4 separate regions of the Homo sapiens genome follow, and regions 1, 2 and 3 are each linked to region 4. The links are contacts of gene promoters, found by promoter capture Hi-C in blood cells and fetal thymus (Javierre and others, 2016). All regions are on one chromosome and are shown on one strand. The core of a region is centred on a gene start or on the middle of the fragment in contact, and the rest is flanking DNA. Distances in the headings are between cores, read along the strand shown.

Region 1 (2,700 bases), core at 80-2,579, 930 kb after region 4:
GCCATTGCACTCCAGCCTGGGCAAAAGAGCAAAACTTCGTCTCAAAAGAAAAGAAAAGAAAAGAAAGCAATTACGCAATTTGTTTTAAATTATGACGTCTTTGAAAAGTATGCAATCTAAATTCGTTGGATTAGCGACGAGAATACTGAAGTTGAAGTGCATTTATAGAAGTCTATAAAATGGCAAAAAACTGAAAGGGAAAGAAATGAGCTATTTGAGTATTCTCTGTGTTGCTAGTAAACAAGTTCCAACTCTGCAAATCAGTTTTCAAAAGAATACTGATTGTTTCCTAAGTACCTGCAAACTCTGAAGCATTTTAGGCAAGGGAATGAGTGGGAAAAAAGTATCTTCATGTTTGTGCATTACAACAATAAAGACTATTATGTAACAATGTGGAGTCTTCAAAGCGACCCTGCCAAGAGGGAGAAAGTGGTCCTTATGGACGGATTGTTTTCTGCTAGAAGGCCCTCAATTAGAATTGTACTTACGCATACATAATATAGGATATTATTTTTATATTCATAGAAAACTGCTTTCTCGGGTAACTCCAGCGCTGTACATGGGATGGGATACCGGCCCTCCGTTTACAAATACTCAGGCGCAATGCTGCCCGGGCACTCAAAGGACAGAAGATAGTGTCTGTGCCCTGCGGGAGCAGGCCACGAATCCCGAAAACGCCGTGGCGCAGTGCTCCTTCCCGCGAACCTGAGTGGGCCGTGGTTCTCGGTTGCTCTGGACATAGGAAAATGTCAGTTCATGTGTGTCCCTTTCTCCACTAGATGTCACTGTAAATCAATTGCTTAAGGAGGGAACCCGGGCGTCTGGCGCATCTTCACACAGTACCGGGGTTTGAAGCCCGGTCAGTGTCTGCACTTGTGTCCTTCCCCACTGGGGAGCCCCAAGGCGGGGCAGGCGCGGGGACTCGCTGTGCACGGAGCGGCGCGCTGTCCGAATGGCAACCGAAGAGCCGCGACCCGGTCAACGAAGCGCGGGGGTGACCGGAGCAGGACGGGCGGGCAGGCGGCGCAGTGCGTGGGCGGGCCCGCGCTGCGCTCCCCTCCGCCCAGCTAGCGAGACGGTCACGTGCCGCCCAGGCGCTGCCCCTTGCGGGCGGCTGCAGAACAACAGGGCGGGGCCGGGGAGGGGAGGAACACGGAGGCCGACGCCGGGCGCCGCGGTGCTACGCCCGAGGCTGGGGTCGCCCCGGGCCGGGGGGAGCAGAGCGCGTGCGCCGCGCGGCTGTGAGCGCGAGCGGGGCCGGGGAGCGCGCGCGGAACGCTAGGGGGCGTGGCTGCGGCGCGCGCGCTAACCGGAGGGGGAGGGGCGGAGAGCCACCGCGGAGCGCGCGCGGGGTTGGTTGCCGCGAGCGTGGGGGAGCGTGGACCGCGGCGCTGCTCAGCGGTGGGGCTGCCTTCCCCCGGCCCTCCTCCCTGGTCCCTGGCGAGGGCACTGGCGGCGGCGGGGCCGGGGTCCGCAAGGCCGGAGAAGGCCGCCGGGCCCGGGCATGGTGGTCTGGGGCAACGCGGAAGGTGAGCGACCCCCGGGCCGGCGGCGGGGTGGGGGAGGGGCGGGATCGGACACGCGTCGCCCGGAGGCGCCGCAGACCCGCCCGGCAGCGGCCAGAGCGCGGTCGGCCTGAGGTGGCGCGGGGGAGGGGTGCGTCGCCCCGGCCCCGGCCCGCGGCCGTCCTGTCGCGGCCTGGGCTGTCCACGGCGCCTTCCCCTGACGCTCGCAGCCGCCGGGTTATGTAATGTGTGACCTCCCCTCCCCTTCCCTTCCGTCATGGCGCGGCCGGCCCCGCGCCGCCGCCAGCCCCATGGGCCGCCCCGCGCCGACCCCTGGCGCAGCGGCCCTTCCCTCCGCGCCCGGCCGCATCCCGCCGGCCCGGTCAGACCGCGCCGCAAACTCCTTCCTCCTGCGCCGGCGCCTCGGCCGGCCATTCAGTTCCGCGCCATTCATTCACGCGCGCGTTCGGGCGTTCGTTCCACAAGCGTTTGTAGAATGTCGACCCGGTCGAGCCGCCGCTCCCACCCGCACTCCAGCCACAGCGTTTTTCCGCACCCCGCCTTCGACGTCCCCGGTGCATCCCAGAACCGGTCGGAATGTCCGAAGGCGGTTGTTGCTCCCTTGTTTTTCCTTGCTGCTTGTCCGTTCGCTAAATACGCTGGGCGCCGTTCCCCAACTGTCCTTCCGAGAGCCCCTTGCCCACTTCTGTACTGTTACAGTGACGCCGCTCTGGGCGCACCGAGCCGCGCTGTGTTTCGCTGCTCTTCCTACCTATTCTCAGTTTGTAAAGAAATAATCTCACATAACACTCCTTAATGTACTCCTCCGTAAGATAAATTGCAGATAATATACGTCTGCTAATTCTCTTTATCTCCACGTCTTCTCACGCCATGTACTAAGTAGAAATGGTTTCATTTAGGTGAAAATAATGCAGACTAGCACATAGCACAACAAGGGCTTGTAACTATTAAGGACTTTATGTAACAGTCTGTAATTCTGTGTATCTGTCTGGTCTTTCCGGACTTGGCACTTTAGTCTCCGAGAATAAGCCATTTCCTGTTTAGGTAGGGTAGGACCAACCATAACCTTGGTTCTTTCTATGGAGTTCTGTATGTAGCAAATCAGCCTGTGGGAACCATCTATCTGTCCACCAACCTTTCACACATATTCTTGGGTTTGCCCGTGCAGGGACCA
Region 2 (2,700 bases), core at 152-2,651, 830 kb after region 4:
CTCTACACACCCTGTCTTCCTTACTACTTGCTGGTGCTCAGTCTTTGTTGAGTGTAGGAATCAATCAATCAGTTAATCATCTGGGAATGAGTGTGGCTATTACCTCTGGGATGGATGGCTAACTGAATACGCTGATGGAAATATACACATGAAATATGCAGAGATAGACATTGGTAATATATAGACAGATTGGAAATACATAAAGCCATCCAGGCATGCAGAGTTTACTAGAGAGATGTGCAGAAAGACTTACATAAAATTCCGTAATATTCTGTGTTTAAATAGTTGTATTACTTATGGCCATTTTTATTTTAACTTAAGAAGCTTCATTTACAGTAAGCCTGACACCTGGCTGTACTCATAAAATCTAAAGAATCATTAAACACAGACACAAGAGAAGTGAAAGAACATTCTTATAGTGCTCTTTACTTGGTATTCTGGGCATTAGTACCCCAGTACTGGGTGCTGGAGATGGGACCCCATAGACCTGGCTGTCAAATTTGTGGAGTCTCGCCCTGCTGGAGCCCTGGAGCTAAGGACTAAGAACTCGGAGCTTTGGTTTGGGCCCTCCATGGGGGTACTATTACAGTGTGGGCATCTGGGAGCCCCTGTGGCAGAGGCTGTGTGGCAAAATCCCAGCCAGAGCGAGAAAGTCAGAGTCTTTCTCTCTTTGGTGTTGGCACTTGTCTCCTGGAAAACAATGCAGACAGCCCTGAGGATACCATACTAGGTTCCTGTTATCTCATGGAAAATGGTACTTTCTGAATATATTTGTGTTGCACCTTAACACATATCTAAAGTTAAACACAGGCTGGCCTGATAGCTGACACCTGTAATCCCAGCACTTTGGGAGGCCAAGGTGGGAGGATCGCTTGAGCCCAGGAGTTTGAGATCAGCCTGAGCAACATGGCAAAGCCCCGTCTCTACAAAAAATACAAAAAATTAGCCAGGCATGGTGGCACACACTTGCATTCCCAGCTACTTGGAAGGCTGAGGCGGGAGGATCACCTGAGCCTGGGAGGTCGAGGCTGCAGTGAGCCATGATCGCACCACTGCACTCCAGCCTGGGTGACAGAGCAAGACTGTCTCTAAATAAACAAATAAAATTAAACCCAATCATGGCAACAAGGATCCAATCAAAGTACTGTTTTAGAAAAAGGTACTTTATGGATTCTAAGATGTCATGGGATAGTAATTGAAAACTAGAATTAAGGCACCAAGAGATAATAGCTTCTGCTTGCAGTTCACAAAAGGCAATAATTTTTTTTTTTTTTTTTGAGACGGAGTCTCACTCTGTCACCAGGCTGGAGTGCAGTGGCGTGATCTCAGCTCACTTAAATCTCTGCCTCCCAGGTTCAAGCGATTCTCCTGCCTCAGCCTCCCAAGTAGCTGGGACTACAGGCGTGCACCACCACACCTGGCTAATTTTTTGTATTTTAGTAGAGATGGGGTTTCACCATGTTGGCCAGGATGGTGTTGATCTCCTGACCTCGTGATTCGCCTGCCTCGGCCTCCCAAAGTGCTGGGATTACAGGCATGAGCCACCGCACCTGGCCAAAGCAAGAATTTTTAAAACAGAAAAGTCCAGGCTTGCCACTGCCCTTATGGCATGAATCCCAGAGAACACACACTTGCTGTACTTTATTCTGATACCAAGAAATGCCAAGGTGAGTGCCGCTGGAGCTGCAGTGGGAACTCAGACCAGTTGGAGGGCTAAATCCTAAGCCGGTTGATGGCAGAGCAGCTTTCAGAATTCAAAATGTTGAATCATGGCGTCGTGCCTCTCCTCTCCATCAGCTGTCAATTGTAAAACTGACAGATTTCATCCTTGCTTGTTGAGGAGCTAATGGGGAAGCTATGGCAGGGGCACAGCTGCTCAGGCTGTGCTTCGGGGAAGCCAGGTGAGTGGGGCTCCCAGGAGGCCTTGCTCTGTGGAAGTCGGTGCCTGGGAACTCATAATACCTCTTGAAATCCAGTGCTGATTGACTTTAGTTTATTCCCATACAGTGTGACAACGAAGACGACTACAGGGAGATCAAGAAGTCCCAGGGAGAGAAAGACAGCTCTTCAAGACTGGCCACCTCCACCAGTAATACTTTGTCTGCAAACCACTGCAACATGAACATCAACAGGTACGTGCATTCCCTCCAAAGTGGAAGTGAGCTGGAGAGATCTCTGGGTCTGAAAGTCACCTGCTATGTTGGAGGAGGGTCAGGCTTTTTGAGGACTACTCTGGTCAAGGTCTGCAGACTTGCTTCCCTCCTTTAACCCAAATCTTATTATTATGGCTACACATGTGCCACACATTATAGCTCCAGATACTCACGCAAGGTTCTTCTCCATAACCAAAGACCAGATACTAGTTACACACAGCTCTGCACTCCCCAAGACATGCCCTTCCCCCAAAAAAACTTAATAACTGAATTTCTAATCAATATTTTAATGGTAACCGCTAAACTCCTAAGAACACTAAGCTTATTACACAGACGAAGAAATACACACTTCAAGCTGAATCTCCATGTGTAGCACCTAAAGCAATTAATTGGATATAGACTAAAATTGTGGCCTTAGAAGGGTCCGTGCTCCCAAGGTTAAATGGCCACCCACACACTCCTCTCAAGAGGTTCCAGATGGACGCATCCAGCACTGACTCCCCTCTGTGATGAATGGCTTACAAGCAAAGCAAGATCCCAGGTATTT
Region 3 (2,700 bases), core at 79-2,578, 850 kb after region 4:
TCTGCCTGAATCCAGCATCTAAAGTTTACAGCATTATTCATTCATTGTCCTCTTGCCCAACCCTATCTTTCCTGTTGACGATTTCCCAAGAGGAGACACTCTGCTCCAGCCAGGCTGGTCCCCTACTGACCTCTAAGCACACCTTGCTCCTGCCAGCCAGCGGGCCTTTGCACCTGCAGAGATTCACTCTCACACACTCTCATGGGCACACTCACACCCTCAGCATCCTCCCCAAATCTAGCCAAACCCTACCATTCCTTCCCGGCGTCATATTCAGTCTCCTCCCTGTGGCCTTCCCAGCCTCTCTGCGGCCCCATCACTAGCTCACTTTCCTCCATCTCATTTGCACTGGATGCCTCATTTTGTATTTTGTTGGGTAATCACAGACTGCCTTGCACTTTGAACTGTCTTGTAGGTGTACATTTTCTCTCTCCAAGTCTATTATATGTTCCTGGAAAGAGCTTTCGCTTGTGGAGTGCACATACCACAGAATTGGGTGCTTTAGGAAATATTAATACTAAATGAAATGACTTCATCTGAAAGTGTTATCAAGAAATGTTGCATTATAGGCCAGGCACGGTGGCTCACACCTGTAATCCCAGCACTTTGGGAGGCTAAGGCAGGTGGATCATTTGAGGTCAGGAGTTCGAGACCAGCCTGGCCAACATGGTGAAACCCTGTTTCTACTAAAAATACAAAAAAAAAAAAAAAAATGAGCCAGGTGTGGTGGTGCACACCTGTAATCCCAGCTACTTGGGAGGCTGAGACAGAAGACTCGCTTGAACCCGGGAGGCAGAGATTGCAATGAGCCAAGATCATGCCACTGCACTCCAGCCTGGGTGACAGAGTGAGACCCTGTCTCCAAAAAAAAAAAAAAGAAAAAAGAAATGTTGCATTATAGCCTACACTACCTTTATAAGCAGTTTAAAATTTTGATTTGCTAAGGAGAGGAAGTTTTGCTCTGCATTTCTGGTTTTGAAGCTATCATTACTAATGAAGTTTTTTTTGTATTTTTAGTGGCAAGACTTGGAATAGTATTTGAGTATTATGTCATTCTGTTTTAATTGATGAATGAATCATTTGAAAACTGGGGAGATTCTGCAATCCAGAGTTAGAATATGTAATTACCTACAAAGAGTAGTAAGGTATGGAACCAGGAACTTGATGCATAAGTTTAGACTGATGAGATCTTAAGAATATAAAGCTGATTTGTGGCTGCCCTTGCTGATGTGGGGAAAGAATAACACAAATTTCGACAGCTACAGATAATCCCGTAGAAATGTGTTTTGTTTTGCCTTTAGAGACAGCGTCTTGCTGTGTTATCCAGGTTGGAGCACAGTGGGGCGATCATAGCTCACTGGAACCTCAAACTTCCAGGCTCGAGTGATCCTCCTGCCTCACCTTCCCAAAACACTGGGATTACAGGCATGAGCCGCCAGGCCCAACCAAAAATCATTTTTATTAATAATTTTCAACTTTTTGTCCTATTTTAGCAAAGCTGAAATAGCTCCTTGAGGTTTATCTCCTCTCCTTTCCCCTACTCACTCTCACTCTTAAGTGAGGTTCTAAATATTAACAACAACAAAAAAAAAAAACAATTGAGGCCAGGTGTGGTGGCCTATGCCTGCCTGTAATTCCAGCTACGTGGGAGGCTGAGGCAGGAGAATCGCTTGAACATAGGAGGCAGAGGTTGCAGGGAGACTCCATCTCAAAAATAAAAAAATTAAAAAAAATTGAGAAGAGGAAGGCATGGAGATATAAGTGCCACAAATAATGTAAAAGATAATAACCAAGGCCTAGAACCATCCAAGTTGGGGATGTACCAAAAGAAGTATGAAAACTCTTATATGGGACCAGACCTACCAACTTTGATGCATATTTAGCATAGCATGGAGGAACAAGGAATGAAGTCGCCAAACCATTAGGGGTTAGAAAGAGGGAAACAGAAATCAGAGCAGCCATGCAGTTCTGAGCTCTGTTGATTGACAGCTGTCACATGGGTTTGATACAATTCTGTATATAACTGTTCGCTCACTTACTCCAAGCCAGTAGCAGTTTGAGAAAATAAGTAGGAAAAGAAGTATTCTATTTCTTTCTTCTCTCAGCTTCATAGGATTTTAGAAGTCAGAGTTGGGTTTCTCAAATAAGGTGTATAAACTACATGACAATGCCATTTAAAAAAAACTATTGTTTAGGAAGACACTGTATTAACTCTGTTGATCAGGTGGAAAAGTTTGGAAAGGCTTTGAACTATGCTGAAGCAGCATTGTCGTTTATCGAGTGTGGAAATGCAATGGAACAAGGCCCCATGGAATCCAAATCTCCTTATACGATGTATTCAGAAACAGTAGAGCTCATCAGGTAAGCACCGTGTTTTCTTGCTGGATGAGGGGAGGAGTGAGGAATGTGTGGAAGCACTATGGTTACAGAGAAAAGAATGTCAGCCTGCACCATCCCCCACCAGGAACCAGTGTTCATCCCCCCAAAATAAGAGGGTAAGGTCGTGCAAGGCGTCTTGGCACACCCTGCCCCCTCTGTCCTCCGTGAGCAAGGGGGGCAGCTGCTGTAGCCCCCAATTGCTGAGGGAGGAGGCTGAGTCTGAGTGGGCTGTGACATGCCTGCTCCTCTCAGCTAGGAAGTGGCAGATTTTGAGCCTATTTCAGCCCTAGGCTGCTTTAAAAAAAAAAAAAAATCTGGTTC
Region 4 (2,700 bases), core at 83-2,582:
GGCACGTGCCCCCACTCCTGGCTAATTTTTTTTGTAGTTTTATTAGAGACAGGGTTTCTCCATGTTGGTCATGCTGGTCTCGAACTCCCGACCTCAGGTGATCCACCTACCTCCGCCTCTCAAAATGTTGGGATTACAGGCGTGAGCCACCACGCCCGGCCTAGTACCACATTCTGTAGATGAGAAGACTGGGACACAGAGAGATGAGAGTGTGACAAGGTCAACAGTCATATGCAGTGACTAAGGCTCTGAATCCACGTGGTCTGATTCCCAGAGCCTTGATCCTTAAATCCTGCATAATATGCTGCATCACATCCAAGCTTCACATTTACTTACTTCTTTTCTGCCGTGCACGTGTATCGATTCAAATCCTCAAAGGGAAACCCAATGTCTCATCTCAACCACAGGGCCCCAAAAAAGGGCTCAGTAAACGTCTTCTGCATGAGGGACAGAACCTTTAAACCATGATTAGTAATGGGGCTAGAAGTGAAATACTCAAACAGCCAGCTCCCTCAATATTATTAACTCATTAAGGAGGGAACCAATAAAAAAGAAAAAAAACAAAAACAAAAACGCTTGTTCCTTGAAAGCTTTGAAAAATTGTGTGTGTGTGTGTGTGTGTGTGTATACATACACGTATCTATTTTACTTGTTTGCTAAATAGACACAGATATAGTCGGGTAGTTAACAAACATGTAGGTTGTATAAAAATAAAACTAGTTTATCTTCTTTGGGGCAATAAAATCCCAATACCTTTGAGGTTGACTCAGGCCTTATCCATTTCTGCAGGTTAAGAAGTTACAATTCTTCAGGTCTGTAAACTGGTCAGGCCGTTATCATTGTCCTTCGTTAATCCACTGTACCTAGACAACAGTTACATCCCCAACCCGGACAGCCAAGGGGGTTCTTTAAAGAATAGAACGTCCCCCTTTTACTAAGTAGGCTTATTAGAAAATGCTAGAAGTTACCCTTAACGCAAGCAAGTGGCCTTTTTCCAAGTTGGGGATTTAAGAAATTTACTTATCTATTTTTTGTATTTTTCCAAGGTGGTTTTGTGTGTGTGTGTGACTTTGTTGTTGTTTTGGTTTGGTTTTTTGCCTTTTTCCAAGTTTGGGATTTTTTTTCTTTCTCAAAAAGCGAACCTGTTTTCTGGATGGAGGCCCAGCGGGACTTGTTCCGGCCGCAGGTCTCGGTCAGAAAGAACGCTTTTGCAGCGGCAGAAAGGGAGACTCGGGATCCGGGCCTGGGGTCCCGCGGCCGCGCCCCTCCCCACTCCCCGCGACCCGCTGGAACGCGCACGGCCGGGGACGGCGGCGGGGACGCGCGCGGGCAGGCGGCGCGCACGGCCGGATAGGCGCGAGGGGGCCGCGTGAGGCGGTGCCGGCGTTCTGGCCCCCAAAGCCGGTCTAGCGCGCCGGGCGTCTTCCTTACTTCCGCTGCCGCCGCCGCCACATCCCGGGACCCGACGGGCCGCGGCGCGGAGGCCTCGGGGCAAGGTGGGGCGGGCCTCCCGAGCTCCCAGGACCCCGCGCGCTTCGCCCACAGGCCCGGCGAAGCCCGACCCGCGCGGCGCCCCCAGGGCCAGGGGAGGAGCCTAAGGACCCGGACGAGCGCCGCTCCAGTAGGGTGAGCTCGGGGACGCGCAGGCGGGTGGGTTTCAGCGCCTGGGCCCCTCTCCCCGCCGCGGGGCGCACGGAAAAACCGGGGAACCCGCGGGTTTTGTCCTGGCGAGCCACATCCCGGTGTGTTTTGGCGACTTGAAGACCTCCCTAGTTCGCGGGAGTAGCGGGAAGAGCCTTCCTCGCGTTAATTATGCAATAAGAAGGCGTCCTTGTGCGGGATGCTGTGACCCGCGGAATTATTGATATTGTGCGAGCCTACAATTTACTTCTTTCATCCTTGGCTGAGAATTTGCGTTTGTAATTGTAGATGGAGAGAGGAAGAAAGGGTTCAGCTTGGGTCCAAGGAGCATGCAGAGGAAGGCAGGGAAGAAGGAGCATGTGCAGCTTCGGTGCGAGGGGAGTCAGGGGTGGGAATGCACGTTCCCTGCCTGAGGGGCCCCGGGGTGCCCTGAGCCTCTGATCTTCGCTGTCAGGAGGCCTGTCCGAAGTTGGAGGTTGAGGCATGCAGTTCTGCACTTCTGGCTGGGAAGGTGAACCAGGTTTTCCAAAATGTCATTTTTGCTTTCCAAGTCTGCAAGGCAGGAAAGGGTTGGGCAGTGAATGGAAAGTAGTGCAGCCAGGTTCTGGTTAGCTCAGCGGCAGGACTGTCATAACGGTGGGTTTTTGTTGTTGTTGTTGTTGTTGTTGTTTTGTCTGAAAACCAGAGTCTGGGGCTTTGGGCCATGAGGAGTTGGGTTATTGCATTGCTTAGAGTGCCAGAGTGAGAAATGTCTCAGACGCTGTTAAAATTAGGCAGCTCAGTTTAGCTCTGGCTCTCTGATAACCAACCACCTCCTCCTTCACTCTTTTCAGTGACTGGGTTAAAATGAAAAGACACAAAGAGAGAAGTGGTCTTTTCCCTTCCCTCCCCATTATAATTAAGAGCTTAGTCCATCTTGGCTCAGAATTGGAATTCAGAATTCAGAATTGCTCTTGACCCTGAAGAATAGAATCTCAAAGAAATACCTGAGCAGAAAATTCTCTTCTTCGCTGAAATGAAAATTGGAGTGTTTGCAAAACTGAACAAAGAAAGGAAAGA

The links. The method cuts DNA at HindIII sites, captures the fragments that hold promoters and counts their contacts. A CHiCAGO score of 5 or more calls a contact.
Region 1: the fragment with the promoter of REV1 here is called in contact with the fragment with the promoter of CHST10 in region 4 in 6 of 17 cell types (monocytes, fetal thymus, erythroblasts and 3 more); the score reaches 13.2 in monocytes.
Region 2: a contact is called between a fragment that was not itself captured here and the fragment with the promoter of CHST10 in region 4, in 1 of 17 cell types (M0 macrophages). The highest score is 5.1, in M0 macrophages.
Region 3: a fragment that was not itself captured here is called in contact with the fragment with the promoter of CHST10 in region 4 in 1 of 17 cell types (M0 macrophages); the score reaches 5.2 in M0 macrophages.

The regions. Positions count from the first base shown.
Region 1 is chr2:99,488,646-99,491,345 of GRCh38, reverse strand. It overlaps REV1 (REV1 DNA directed polymerase), which reads left to right and starts at 1,329. Exons shown (of 23, transcript NM_016316.4): 1 at 1,329-1,529. RefSeq lists an enhancer at 506-1,391 and silencers at 825-1,494, 1,605-1,704, 1,775-1,854. The HindIII fragment of the contact is 11,070 bases long and covers 1-2,700 here.
Region 2 is chr2:99,586,586-99,589,285 of GRCh38, reverse strand. It overlaps AFF3 (ALF transcription elongation factor 3), which reads left to right. Exons shown (of 25, transcript NM_001386135.1): 16 at 2,008-2,132. Among named protein-coding and RNA genes, the nearest start is that of REV1, 98 kb to the right of the region's middle. The HindIII fragment of the contact is 2,150 bases long and covers 327-2,476 here.
Region 3 is chr2:99,565,148-99,567,847 of GRCh38, reverse strand. AFF3 (ALF transcription elongation factor 3) reads left to right here. Exons shown (of 25, transcript NM_001386135.1): 20 at 2,225-2,361. Among named protein-coding and RNA genes, the nearest start is that of REV1, 76 kb to the right of the region's middle. The HindIII fragment of the contact is 3,586 bases long and covers 1-2,700 here.
Region 4 is chr2:100,416,300-100,418,999 of GRCh38, reverse strand. CHST10 (carbohydrate sulfotransferase 10) reads left to right here and starts at 1,332. Exons shown (of 7, transcript NM_004854.5): 1 at 1,332-1,626. RefSeq lists silencers at 1,227-1,676, 1,687-1,836. The HindIII fragment of the contact is 2,675 bases long and covers 593-2,700 here.